Linked DNA regions of Homo sapiens: region 2 is linked to region 1. Evidence: promoter capture Hi-C in 16 types of primary human blood cells and fetal thymus (Javierre and others, 2016). All regions are on one chromosome and are shown on one strand. Each heading gives the region's core, a stretch centred on a gene start or on the middle of the fragment in contact. The rest is flanking DNA. Distances are from core to core; before and after follow the strand shown. Region 1 holds the start of FGF19 (fibroblast growth factor 19). Region 2 holds the start of FGF4 (fibroblast growth factor 4).

Evidence for each region. Contacts are between HindIII fragments. The CHiCAGO score rates a contact against its expected background, and 5 or more counts as called.
Region 2: the fragment with the promoter of FGF4 here is called in contact with the fragment with the promoter of FGF19 in region 1 in 1 of 17 cell types (endothelial precursors); the score reaches 5.0 in endothelial precursors.

What each region holds. Positions count from the first base shown.
Region 1 is chr11:69,701,325-69,706,922 of GRCh38, reverse strand. FGF19 (fibroblast growth factor 19) reads left to right here and starts at 2,901. Exons shown (of 3, transcript NM_005117.3): 1 at 2,901-3,278; 2 at 3,559-3,662. The coding sequence starts at 3,047. RefSeq lists enhancers at 1-590, 1,130-1,492 and a promoter at 631-2,828. The HindIII fragment of the contact is 32,821 bases long and covers 1-5,598 here.
Region 2 is chr11:69,773,749-69,779,346 of GRCh38, reverse strand. It overlaps FGF4 (fibroblast growth factor 4), which reads left to right and starts at 4,006. Exons shown (of 3, transcript NM_002007.4): 1 at 4,006-4,602; 2 at 5,220-5,323. The coding sequence starts at 4,263. RefSeq lists enhancers at 2,334-3,257, 5,107-5,598 and promoters at 3,722-4,117, 3,005-4,117. The HindIII fragment of the contact is 22,710 bases long and covers 1-5,598 here.

The DNA of each region.
Region 1 (5,598 bases), core at 1,652-4,151:
CAGAAAAAGGATTTACGGTTCTACAGGGCAATTAAATAAAAAAATAAAAAATGAATTAAAAAAAAAAAGCTAACATCAAATCCAGAACAAAGCCAAGCCAAGCCCTTCTGGACACCTGGGCTGGAGACCCCCATACCCCTGCATGGGTGAGCGGGACATCCAGGTGCCTTGGACCCTACCTGCTACCCATTGCCCATGCCATTCAATGAATGAAACCCCACCTGGGCGATTCAGCCGGCTTAGCCACCCAGGGGCAAATCAAACACAACCTGAAAAGCAAAGTCAGCCCAATGCAGCACACAGGTGGCTTCAGAGGTCCCGGTGTGCACAGAACAGAGTGGGAGGAGGACCTCAGCCCTTGCCACACCTCTGCTCTCGCCAGGAGAGCCCCTTGCTGGCCAGCACTGCCTTGTCCTCTGCAGGCTTGGCTCCCTCTAACCACACACACCAGGGAGCCCAGCAAACACCCAAGATCGTGTGCCTGGCCCACCTGGGGCAAACCCTCGAGGCCCGGCAGTCCATCTCTGTAACCGTCAGCTACCTCACATGAGCAGGATCCATCCCCTAAGCTCTCAGAGCATTGCTGTGCCTGTGAGATGGCCGGCACACAGCTGACCTCAAGGCCTGCCATCAACACCTTCATGAGTGCTACATCCCAGGCCCTCTCTGTCCCCTCTTCCTTGTCACCCTCAGGACAAGCCTGAGAGCAAGCTGAGAGGGCAATGGGTCAGCGGTCCACGACCTACCCAGGGAGTGGCCGGGTGTGATCCATGCTACAGTGGGTCTGACCCCGGAGCCCCTGTCCCGGGATAAGACGCAGCACAGCCTGGATTTACGAGCCCCACTGTTTGGGTTCAAATTCCAACTTCACCACTAACAGAGTGTGCGACCTTGGGTTACTCGGCCACTTTTCTGGGGCCATTTCCCTCCTGCTCCATGGGGGAGGGAGGAATAGAATACTGTGGGGGCTCTTGTGGAGATTTGAGCTGAGAACCTCCATGAAGCGCTCAGAACAGGGGCTGGGGGACAGCAGCCGCCTTCCTCATTTCCCCACCTCCCTGATCGCATCAGCCACTCTCTTCCCCATGTCCCTGGAAGGGGCTGCAGAGGGGTAGGGGTGGAACCAGAGGCTGCCATCGCCCCCACCCGGTTTGGGTCGTGTCCCCCAGTGCAGCCTCTGCCATCGCCCTCAAGAGCATTTATCACGCATTTACCACGGATCTTTAAAACGAAAGCTGCAGGGGAGGGTAATTAAGTTTAATAGGAGCCGCCGTCGATTTAAAGCCACAGGGGGGAAGTAATTAGATTTAACAGAAGCCACGGCTTTCTGAACCAAGACACACAGCGTGGGGGTCCCTGGTCTAGAAAGCCTTCGGGATGATGTCTTTTTGTAAAGACTTTCCTGGTGACATTTGCTGCGCCCTCAGTCATTAACGCCAGTCACTGACTGGGGAATGAATGTGGCCTCTGCTCATTGAAATTCATTAGGCCTGGCATTTCTCTCGCTGTCTCTCCTGTTTGCCCTCCCCATCGCCTTTGCGCTGGGCCAGGAGGGCTCTGCCCCCAAAACCAGCCTCCTGGGGCCCCACATCCAGGAGCTGGGGGTTTGGAAGAATAACAAGAAATAATTAGAGTTAAACCAAAGCCCCGTAGGAGGACCCCTTTATTCCCCGCCTGGGTATTCTCTGGATGTCGTTTTCTTTATTGGCAGGAACCGCTTCATGGAGCGGCCCCCATTTCTTTCCTCACCTGGCACCTGCCCGGACGCCAGGGGCGCCCATCACCGTTCCTGGGCCCCTTCCCGACCCCTCCCCACCAGGTAAGGCGCTCTCGACCTCCCCGACCGTGCTGTTCCTCCTGACCCCGTGCGCAGGGACTCGGGGACTCAAAAACCAGACCCCCGACACAAGACAGCTCAAAAAACGGGAAACGGAGGCCCAGGCCTCCCTCCCTGCGCCCCTGCCTCCACCACCCTCCAGCCGAGAAGCTGGGGTTCACCAATCCCGCAGCTGGCCCGCCCACCCTGCCCGAGAGCCTCCTTCCCAGTGCCCCCTTTCAGGTTGCATCTCGCGCACAGCCGCGGGGCCGGGGCGAGCGCGGAGCAGGCAGGGGCGCGGGGCCAGGAGCGCAAAGCCCAGGCGGACGCCGAGGCTGCGGCGCCACCTACAGTCCGCGCGGCTTCCATTGTTTCCCCGCCGGCCGAGAGCGCGCCCGGCCCCCCGTCGGGGGGCAATTTACCCGGATAAAAGGGGCGGGGCAGGAATTGCAAGAAGATGAAGCTGAAAGAACCTGAGACTGTCGGAACTGCCGGGGAAAATTCTACGGGACGGCTTTGACGTCAGATGTGCGGGGCTGCGAAAGTCGGGGGAGGGAGTGCGAGTGGGCTTTTAAGGGGAAGGGCACTAAGGCCGAGGTGAGGCTTTTCCCGACAGAGGGTGAAGGGGGCAAAACTCGGTGCCCCCCAACCTCTGGCCCCGGGGTTCCTGACCCCGCCCCCGCTAGTGCCCCACGCCGAGTGCATCCACTGGGAGCCTGAGGCCTGGGGGAAGGGCCCCAGTTGTCGATTGCTTTACAAAGTCAAACTCTCCCAGCCAAGAACCTCGGGGCCGCTGCGCGGTGGGGAGGAGTTCCCCGAAACCCGGCCGCTAAGCGAGGCCTCCTCCTCCCGCAGATCCGAACGGCCTGGGCGGGGTCACCCCGGCTGGGACAAGAAGCCGCCGCCTGCCTGCCCGGGCCCGGGGAGGGGGCTGGGGCTGGGGCCGGAGGCGGGGTGTGAGTGGGTGTGTGCGGGGGGCGGAGGCTTGATGCAATCCCGATAAGAAATGCTCGGGTGTCTTGGGCACCTACCCGTGGGGCCCGTAAGGCGCTACTATATAAGGCTGCCGGCCCGGAGCCGCCGCGCCGTCAGAGCAGGAGCGCTGCGTCCAGGATCTAGGGCCACGACCATCCCAACCCGGCACTCACAGCCCCGCAGCGCATCCCGGTCGCCGCCCAGCCTCCCGCACCCCCATCGCCGGAGCTGCGCCGAGAGCCCCAGGGAGGTGCCATGCGGAGCGGGTGTGTGGTGGTCCACGTATGGATCCTGGCCGGCCTCTGGCTGGCCGTGGCCGGGCGCCCCCTCGCCTTCTCGGACGCGGGGCCCCACGTGCACTACGGCTGGGGCGACCCCATCCGCCTGCGGCACCTGTACACCTCCGGCCCCCACGGGCTCTCCAGCTGCTTCCTGCGCATCCGTGCCGACGGCGTCGTGGACTGCGCGCGGGGCCAGAGCGCGCACAGTGAGTGCCCGCCAGCACCCCCGCCCGCCCCGCCGCGCGCACCCCACCCCGCTGCGCGCGCCCCACCCCAGCGCCCTTCCTTCCTTTGCCACCCTTAGGCTCCTGCGGACCCCTCAACTCCTGGGAACCCCAGGTTTTGGCACCTGGACGTTAGGATCCCTCCGTTAGTCCCCAAACAGCGCGGGACGCTAGGGAGAAGCACAGGCTTGTGGACCGACCGCACCCACGTGGTGCGGGCCCAGCGGTCCTTGCTGCAGCTTCTCGCTTCCCCTGCGCCTAGGTTTGCTGGAGATCAAGGCAGTCGCTCTGCGGACCGTGGCCATCAAGGGCGTGCACAGCGTGCGGTACCTCTGCATGGGCGCCGACGGCAAGATGCAGGGGCTGGTAAGTGTCCCCACGGGGCGGATGCGCCGGGGCGGGGGACCGGCGCCTGTCCCCGGGCGGAGGCCTGAAGGAGAGAAAGGCGCTGGTTCGAATCCAGGGTTTCCTCGCCTCCTCCGCCCAGACCCGCGTGCAACTTCGAGGGAAAGATTGCAAAGACCGATTAAGTGCATGTCCGACGATTTCCTACGGAAATTTAGGGTCTCAGCCAGCAGCCAGAGAATAGGCAAAAGCTGCCTTTGCATTTCCAATTGAGTCAAAGGCCGGCCTAGCCGGACCGAGGAAACCCATTATTCGGCCTCCTTTGATATTAAACAGGAAAACCCACCTCGGGCCTTTTCAGCCTCTGCCTGCGCGTGTGTGGTCCTCGCCTCCGTTTCCCTCCCTCCAGTATAAAAGAAGAAAAAAAGAATGGGAAAGAAAAAAGAGGATCTACCCATAACTTTCCTTTAAAAACAAATCAATTGTCAAGCAAGGCAGAAAACAGTGCATTTGGGATAGGAGAGATTTTTTTTTTAGAATTAATTTTTAATCTACCAGGAGCACGGTGTGGCTTAGACGCAGATGCGCTGGAGTCATGTTGCGCCAGGGGAGTGCTTTTCCTCCTGCGGGCCTCACCTGTCCTGTAAACGCTTTCTGGTGGGGGCAGGGGGTGGGGGCTGGCAGGGAAGGCCCAGGTAACCGCAGAGGTCCCGGGGCCGGAAGTGTACGAGCGCTGGGGCTCTGGTGGCCGGGAACAAAGGCTGGGAGTTCAAAGGAACGAACCCGCGCCCCTCCCGCGGCCCCGCGCGCAGAGGAGGCTGTGTGAGGTCTCGGCCCGCGCAGGCCTCACACGCAGCCCCGGACTCCCTGGCGGAGCAGGGGCCAGGGCGGGGGTGGCCGCGCCTGCCCGGGGCCCCCACCCCAGAAAGGATGCAGAGGCGGGGCCGCCTCCGGCCCAACCAGCTCCTTTGTGAACAGCGGGACAAAGCATTTTAGAGTCTCAAAATTGCTCGGTGCCTCTGCCGTGCTCCGTGTACTCGGAGCGCCTGTTTCAGGTTTTATGGCGGAGTCCTGCGTGAGAGGACTGCAGAGAAAGGGGGTGGTCGGCACGCTGGACGCTGACTCCCACCCAGAGCCGCTCCAAACCCACCCTTGCAACTTTAATTTTGACATTTACTATGGCAGGGGGTGTGGGGGTTCCTAATGATGGGAGGCCAGCAGGGGACGTCAACCTAACCCGCCATTCTGCCCAAATTGGGGGTTGGGTCACCTGAAATCCCTCTGTGCCTTTTTTTTTTTTTTTTTTTTTTTTTTTTGGCAGAGTCTTGCTCTGTCGCCCAGGCTGGAATGCAGTGGCCAGATCTCGGCTCACTGCAACCTGTGCCTCCCAGGTTCAAGCGTTTCTGCTACCTCAGCCTCCCATGGAGCTGGGATTACAGGTACCCACCACCAAGCCCAGCTACCTTTTGTATTTTGGGTAGAGATGGGGTTTCACCATGTTGGTGGCCAGGCTGGTCTTGAACTCCCGACCTCAAGTGATCCGGCCGTCTCGGCCTCCCAAAGTGCTTTGGGATTAGAGGTGTGAGCCACCGCGCCCAGCCCCCTTTGTGCCTCTTGATCCCCTGTGCATGGTCTAACAGAAATTGAGGATCTTTTTTTTTTTTTTTTTTTTTTTGAGACGGAGTCTCGCTTGCTCTGTCGCCCAGGCTGGAGTACAGTGGTATGATCTTGGCTCACTGCAACCTCCACCTGCGGGGTTCAAGCAATTCTCCTGCCTCAGCCTCCCAAGTAGCTGGGATTACGGGCACCGTGCCACCATGACCGGCTAGTTTTTTTGTATTTTTAGTAGAGATGAGGTTTCACCATCCTGGCCAGGCTGGTCTCGAACTCCTGACATCACGATCTGCCTGCCTCAGCCGCCCAAAGTGCTGGGATTACAGGCATGAGCCACCTCGCC
Region 2 (5,598 bases), core at 2,757-5,256, 71 kb before region 1:
CTCCCAAAGTGCTGGGATTACAGGGGTGAGCCACCGCACCCAATTAACACCATTTTTTAAAAAGCTAAAAAAAAAAATTGGCTCAATCTCCCCTTATTCTGAAGGTCCTAAAGAAAAACATGCCACTTGCTTTGGGGTGCTTCGGCTCAGTGTAGACCAGTCTATCCCACCGGCCTTATCATCCTCCTGGACTTTTGCAGAAAGACATCATTGTGAGGGTGTCTTGCTGAAGCCAAGAAAGGGAAGTTGAATTGAGAAAGCAGTTGAGCTATTTACAAAGTTTACACAGCCTGGGCCCTTGCCCCGGGCTGAGCTCAGTCATTTTGCCCTGAGGACTATAAGTGGACTATTATGCAGCACTTTCTTTTTTATTATTATTACTATTAAGCCAAGTAAGTTCTTAACAGCTAACACCTGAGCTGGTGGCTCTGAGAAGCCTCTTCACTCCTTCACGGGAGACGGGACCATTCACATGAAGATCCTACATTGTTGTTTTTTTTTTTTTGGAGGTCGAAAAAGGTCACTGTTAGGAGGCTTTCTGGGCCTTTGCTCCTCTCCCTCAATTTATTACCCCTCCAGTGGCTGATGACGTACAGGGAGACTTCCACCCGATAATGACATGGCTTTGTTTATTTCACAAATTCCCAGCATTTACTGTTAATCAGACCCAGTTTGAACCACCCCCAAGGGGCTTGCAGTCTAAACAGCTCACTTTGCTCAGCCTCTTCCTGAGGTCAGGCACTGTCTTGCTAAGGCCGACATCAGCTCATGCCCATTTTACAGATGGGGAAACTGAGAATGCTAAGAAGTGAAATAGCGTAAGGTTATACAACTAACAGGGAGACAGCCTAAACTTGAACCCAACCGGAAGCCCAACATGGCCCCAAGCCTTCCTCGAACCCCAGGACTTGGCAAAGCGGGCGTCCTGGGGTAAAGCATGGCAGAAGGGCTTTGGGTCCAAGCTAAGTGAGGGTCCTGTTTCTAGATCACCTGGCCAGGTGCAGTGGCTCATGCCTGTAATCCCAGCACTTTGGGAGGCTGAGGCGGGAGGATTGCTTGAGGTCAAAAGTTTGAGTCCAGCCCGGGCAATACAGCGAGACCTCGTCTCTACTAAAAAAGAAAACAAAAAATTAGCTGAGTGTGTAGTCCCAGCTACTCAGGAGACTGAGGCTGGAGGATTGCTTAAGCCTGGAAGTTTGAGGCTGTAGAGCTATGATAGAGCCACTGCACTTTAGCCTGGGCAATGGAGCAAGATACTATCTCAAAAAAAAAAAAAAAATTATATATAGGTCCCCTTGTCTCTCTGCTGAGAAGTAACCAGATCTGGAAAAGATTTAGTCACCTTGGTCCAACTATTTCTTTCACATAAAGAAAAAAAAAGGCAATGCAGACCTTCCCATAGGGGCAGCTCTGCCTGAGGCCTTTGCAGGTACCTCTGTTTGTCTGCCCCGGGGCACAGTGGCAGATTGGGCAGGGCAGCTTGCAGTGAGGATTGCTGATGGATGAGCTCCTAGTGTACCTAGCCAGCCATTTACTCACAAACAGCTATTGAGCACCTACTATGTGCCCAGCACTGGAGGTACAACTGGCAACAACACAAATCCGGGCTTGCTCCATGGAGATGACAATCTAAATGCGGTGGAGGGTCAGCTAACAAGTGCAGAAGGTTCTCTTAAGAGCTCAAAGAAGCTCCAACCAGAAGGACTGGGCAGGGGATCCAGAAGGCATCCCCGAGTGGCTACTCCAATGGAGTGGCTTCTCCATTCAGGCAAACCTGAATGGGATAAGTCATTGGCAGGAAGATCTGGGGCCGGGGGTCATCCAGTGGGAAGGGGAGAGATGACGCGGTCAGCATGGCGGGAACACAGGAGCAGAAAGGAAGCAGGTGGGAAGCCAGGTCAAGGGCCAGGGGCACGGAAAGGGGTCAGATGCAGATAAGTGAGTGCTTCCTGGTGCATCCTTCATCCGCAATTCTTCCTTACCTGTGCTTTTGTTGCCTCCATTGCACAGCTGAGGAGGCCAGGGCCTGCGGAGGTTGAGAGTGTGCTCAGGGAGCACCCGGAGCAAAGTGGAAGCCAGATTCCAGATCAGTTCTGCTGGGAATTCCCAGCTCCCAAAAGCCCTGCTGGCTGTCAGTCCCCAGTCACCACAAGCACCTATCCTGTGTGGGTGGGCCTGCAGTTCTGGGAGATATATCAGCTGCCTGCAGCGTCCTTTGCTGAACTCACAGCAAATAGGAGAGACAGGGAGGGGTCCTTGGGAAGCCCTAAATTGAGCTTGCTGTGGGAGTCCTGGGAAGAAAGGAGCCTCATCCTATCAAAAGCCGGGGGAAGACATCAGAGTCCCTCTGCTCAGGTCAGCTGGCACAGGTGGGTCTCCAGGCCTGGGTCTCACTTCCCCAGAGGGTGTGTTCGGTTGGCCCCAGGCTGAGGGAGGAAAGCCCACCTCCCATGTCATTTTGCAAATGGGGAGTCAGGGACCTAGAGATGGAAAGACAACACAGCAAGTGAGGGATGGGTTCTAGGTCCCCTGCACCCTGCACCCTGCACCCTGGCCAACGATGTCTATTTGGCACCAGATCTGCAGGCTCATCTGGGGGACCCCAGGACCCAGAGGCAGCCGGGTTGCATCTCGAAGCTGTGAGCTGCAGCCCAGGAAGGTCCAGGTCTGGGTGGCGCTGCCCAAGCAGGCTGCAGGCCCAAGGAGGAACAAAGATCCTCTCAAGGGGTGCGGAGCTGAGGTTCCGGTCCTGCCAAAGCCACTTGATGACCCCCAAGTGCCCCCCTTTCTGCACCTCAGAGAAGAGCCCTCAAGCCTCCCAGGTCCCCTCCAGGGGCACGAATAAGCCCCAGCAGGGTTCTGAAGGGGTCCCAGGAATCTCCCTGTGGGGATGCGGTGGAGGTGGAGGAGGCTGCGGTGGCCTGGGGACATCTCTGGTCACAGGTGCTGGTGGTATGAGAGATGGGGTAGGCACCAAGCCCCCTGCAGCTGTGGCTAGGCGGGCCTGCAGGAAGGGCCAGGCAGGCTCCTCAGGGACCACAAAGAACAGGGGTTTTCACACCTAGGTGGGCCTGCATCTAGCTAGGACAGTCCCCATCAGGCCATAATGGGCACAGTGGGAGGTAGAACCATGAGTGAGAGAGGGGAGGCTTCCAGAGGCCTGGCCTGGGTCCCTGCTAGATTGAGGGCTCTGGCTATGGTACATGGATATTTCTGCTGTGGAATCAAAGGAGCAGGGGATGCTGAATATCCCCTCTGGCCCTATGCCCTGCTACCTGTCCTTTCACGGAAGGGTGTGTGTGTAGGGGGTGCAGGACCAGGCCTCCCTGGGTGCATCTCTGCCACCTTGCCCTTTGGCTCAGGTGGACCTCCACCAGGTATTCAGAACTCCAGCCCAGAAACGCGCCAAGCCTGTGGGGCCAAGACCTAGGGGGTGGGGGTGGCCTCCCTCCCGCCTGTAGCCAAAGGGTCCTCCCTTGCCCAGCCAGGCCCCGGTGTCGCTTACTGCTCTTATCCACCCCTCCTTCCCAGGCCGGTCCTCAAGGCCCCAGCAAAGGAACCAAGTTCCCGTGAGCCTCCGAAAGGCGAAGGGCAGGCAGCAGCCGCTGGCTTCTGCGCCCACTAGGAGCTTCGGATGCCCGAGTTAGGGCTGCGCCAAGGCGGCCGGAGCAGAGAGGGAGACGGGGACGGGGACAGGCAGGGACAAAGTGCAAGAGGCAAAACTGGCTGAAAAGCAGAAGTGTAGGAGCCGCCAAGGGGCGGGACGAACAGGTCCGTGGGCCGGGCGGAGCCAAGGGTGGGGGCCGGGGTCCCTCCAGGTGGCACTCGCGGCGCTAGTCCCCAGCCTCCTCCCTTCCCCCGGCCCTGATTGGCAGGCGGCCTGCGACCAGCCGCGAACGCCACAGCGCCCCGGGCGCCCAGGAGAACGCGAACGGCCCCCCGCGGGAGCGGGCGAGTAGGAGGGGGCGCCGGGCTATATATATAGCGGCTCGGCCTCGGGCGGGCCTGGCGCTCAGGGAGGCGCGCACTGCTCCTCAGAGTCCCAGCTCCAGCCGCGCGCTTTCCGCCCGGCTCGCCGCTCCATGCAGCCGGGGTAGAGCCCGGCGCCCGGGGGCCCCGTCGCTTGCCTCCCGCACCTCCTCGGTTGCGCACTCCTGCCCGAGGTCGGCCGTGCGCTCCCGCGGGACGCCACAGGCGCAGCTCTGCCCCCCAGCTTCCCGGGCGCACTGACCGCCTGACCGACGCACGGCCCTCGGGCCGGGATGTCGGGGCCCGGGACGGCCGCGGTAGCGCTGCTCCCGGCGGTCCTGCTGGCCTTGCTGGCGCCCTGGGCGGGCCGAGGGGGCGCCGCCGCACCCACTGCACCCAACGGCACGCTGGAGGCCGAGCTGGAGCGCCGCTGGGAGAGCCTGGTGGCGCTCTCGTTGGCGCGCCTGCCGGTGGCAGCGCAGCCCAAGGAGGCGGCCGTCCAGAGCGGCGCCGGCGACTACCTGCTGGGCATCAAGCGGCTGCGGCGGCTCTACTGCAACGTGGGCATCGGCTTCCACCTCCAGGCGCTCCCCGACGGCCGCATCGGCGGCGCGCACGCGGACACCCGCGACAGTGAGTGGCGCGGCCAGGCGCGAAGGGGCGGGGGCGGGGGGCAACGGCCGCCGGGCCAACCCGCTCAGTCACACTCTGAGACCCTCGGCGGGCACCTGCTCGGGGGCCCCGGGAACCGGGGCGGACTCGGGCTCCGGTCCCTTCTGACGCGGGGCTGGGGACGCAGACACTCTTGGCTCCGGCAGCCCAGCGCAACCCCTGAGGTCGGGCGCCGCCTCCCGCCTTCAGAAACTCGGGCTCCGAGCGCCGAATTCCAGCGCCTTCGCCCGTGGGCACAGGGCGCGCGGTGCAGCCACAGGGGGCCCGAGACACGCGCCCCGGCCTGGCCCAGGCTGGGGAACCGCTGGGGTCGGGCTCGCGTCTGAAGGTCCGGGACTGGGTGCGGCCGCCGGGGGTCCCCTACACAGGCAAGCTAATCTGAGCTAGCGCAGGCTTGGGCTCCGGAGGCCCTAGAGGGCAGCTTGGGCTCTGGAGGCCCTTGGGGGCGGCTGCGCCGGGAACCCTGGCCCTTTATCCCCAACCCCACCCCAGAAATAGGGTCCCCGGAGGCGAACAAGCCGAGGGGCGGAGTGGGCCAGGGATCACCTGCCCCGCAATGACCTGCGCCCCGCCCCCAGGCCTGCTGGAGCTCTCGCCCGTGGAGCGGGGCGTGGTGAGCATCTTCGGCGTGGCCAGCCGGTTCTTCGTGGCCATGAGCAGCAAGGGCAAGCTCTATGGCTCGGTGAGTACCGCAGGGGTCTGGCTAGGCACCTAGTTGGGAACAGCGGACATGGCTAGCAGGCTCGTGGCTTCTCCAGCCCCACCTGTGCCTGGGTCTTGGAGGGGTGGCAGGGTCACCAGGTCACGGGACCGGCAGGCCTCCCCAGACAAAGGAAGCAGCCCCAAGGCAGGAACAATGAGGTTCCTGCCATCCCTGAGTGGGCCCCTCCCAGACCGAGGAAAGGGCGCTATTGAGAGCCCTTCCCTTCTCTAGTCCAGAGGGGTAGGTCTCAGTGT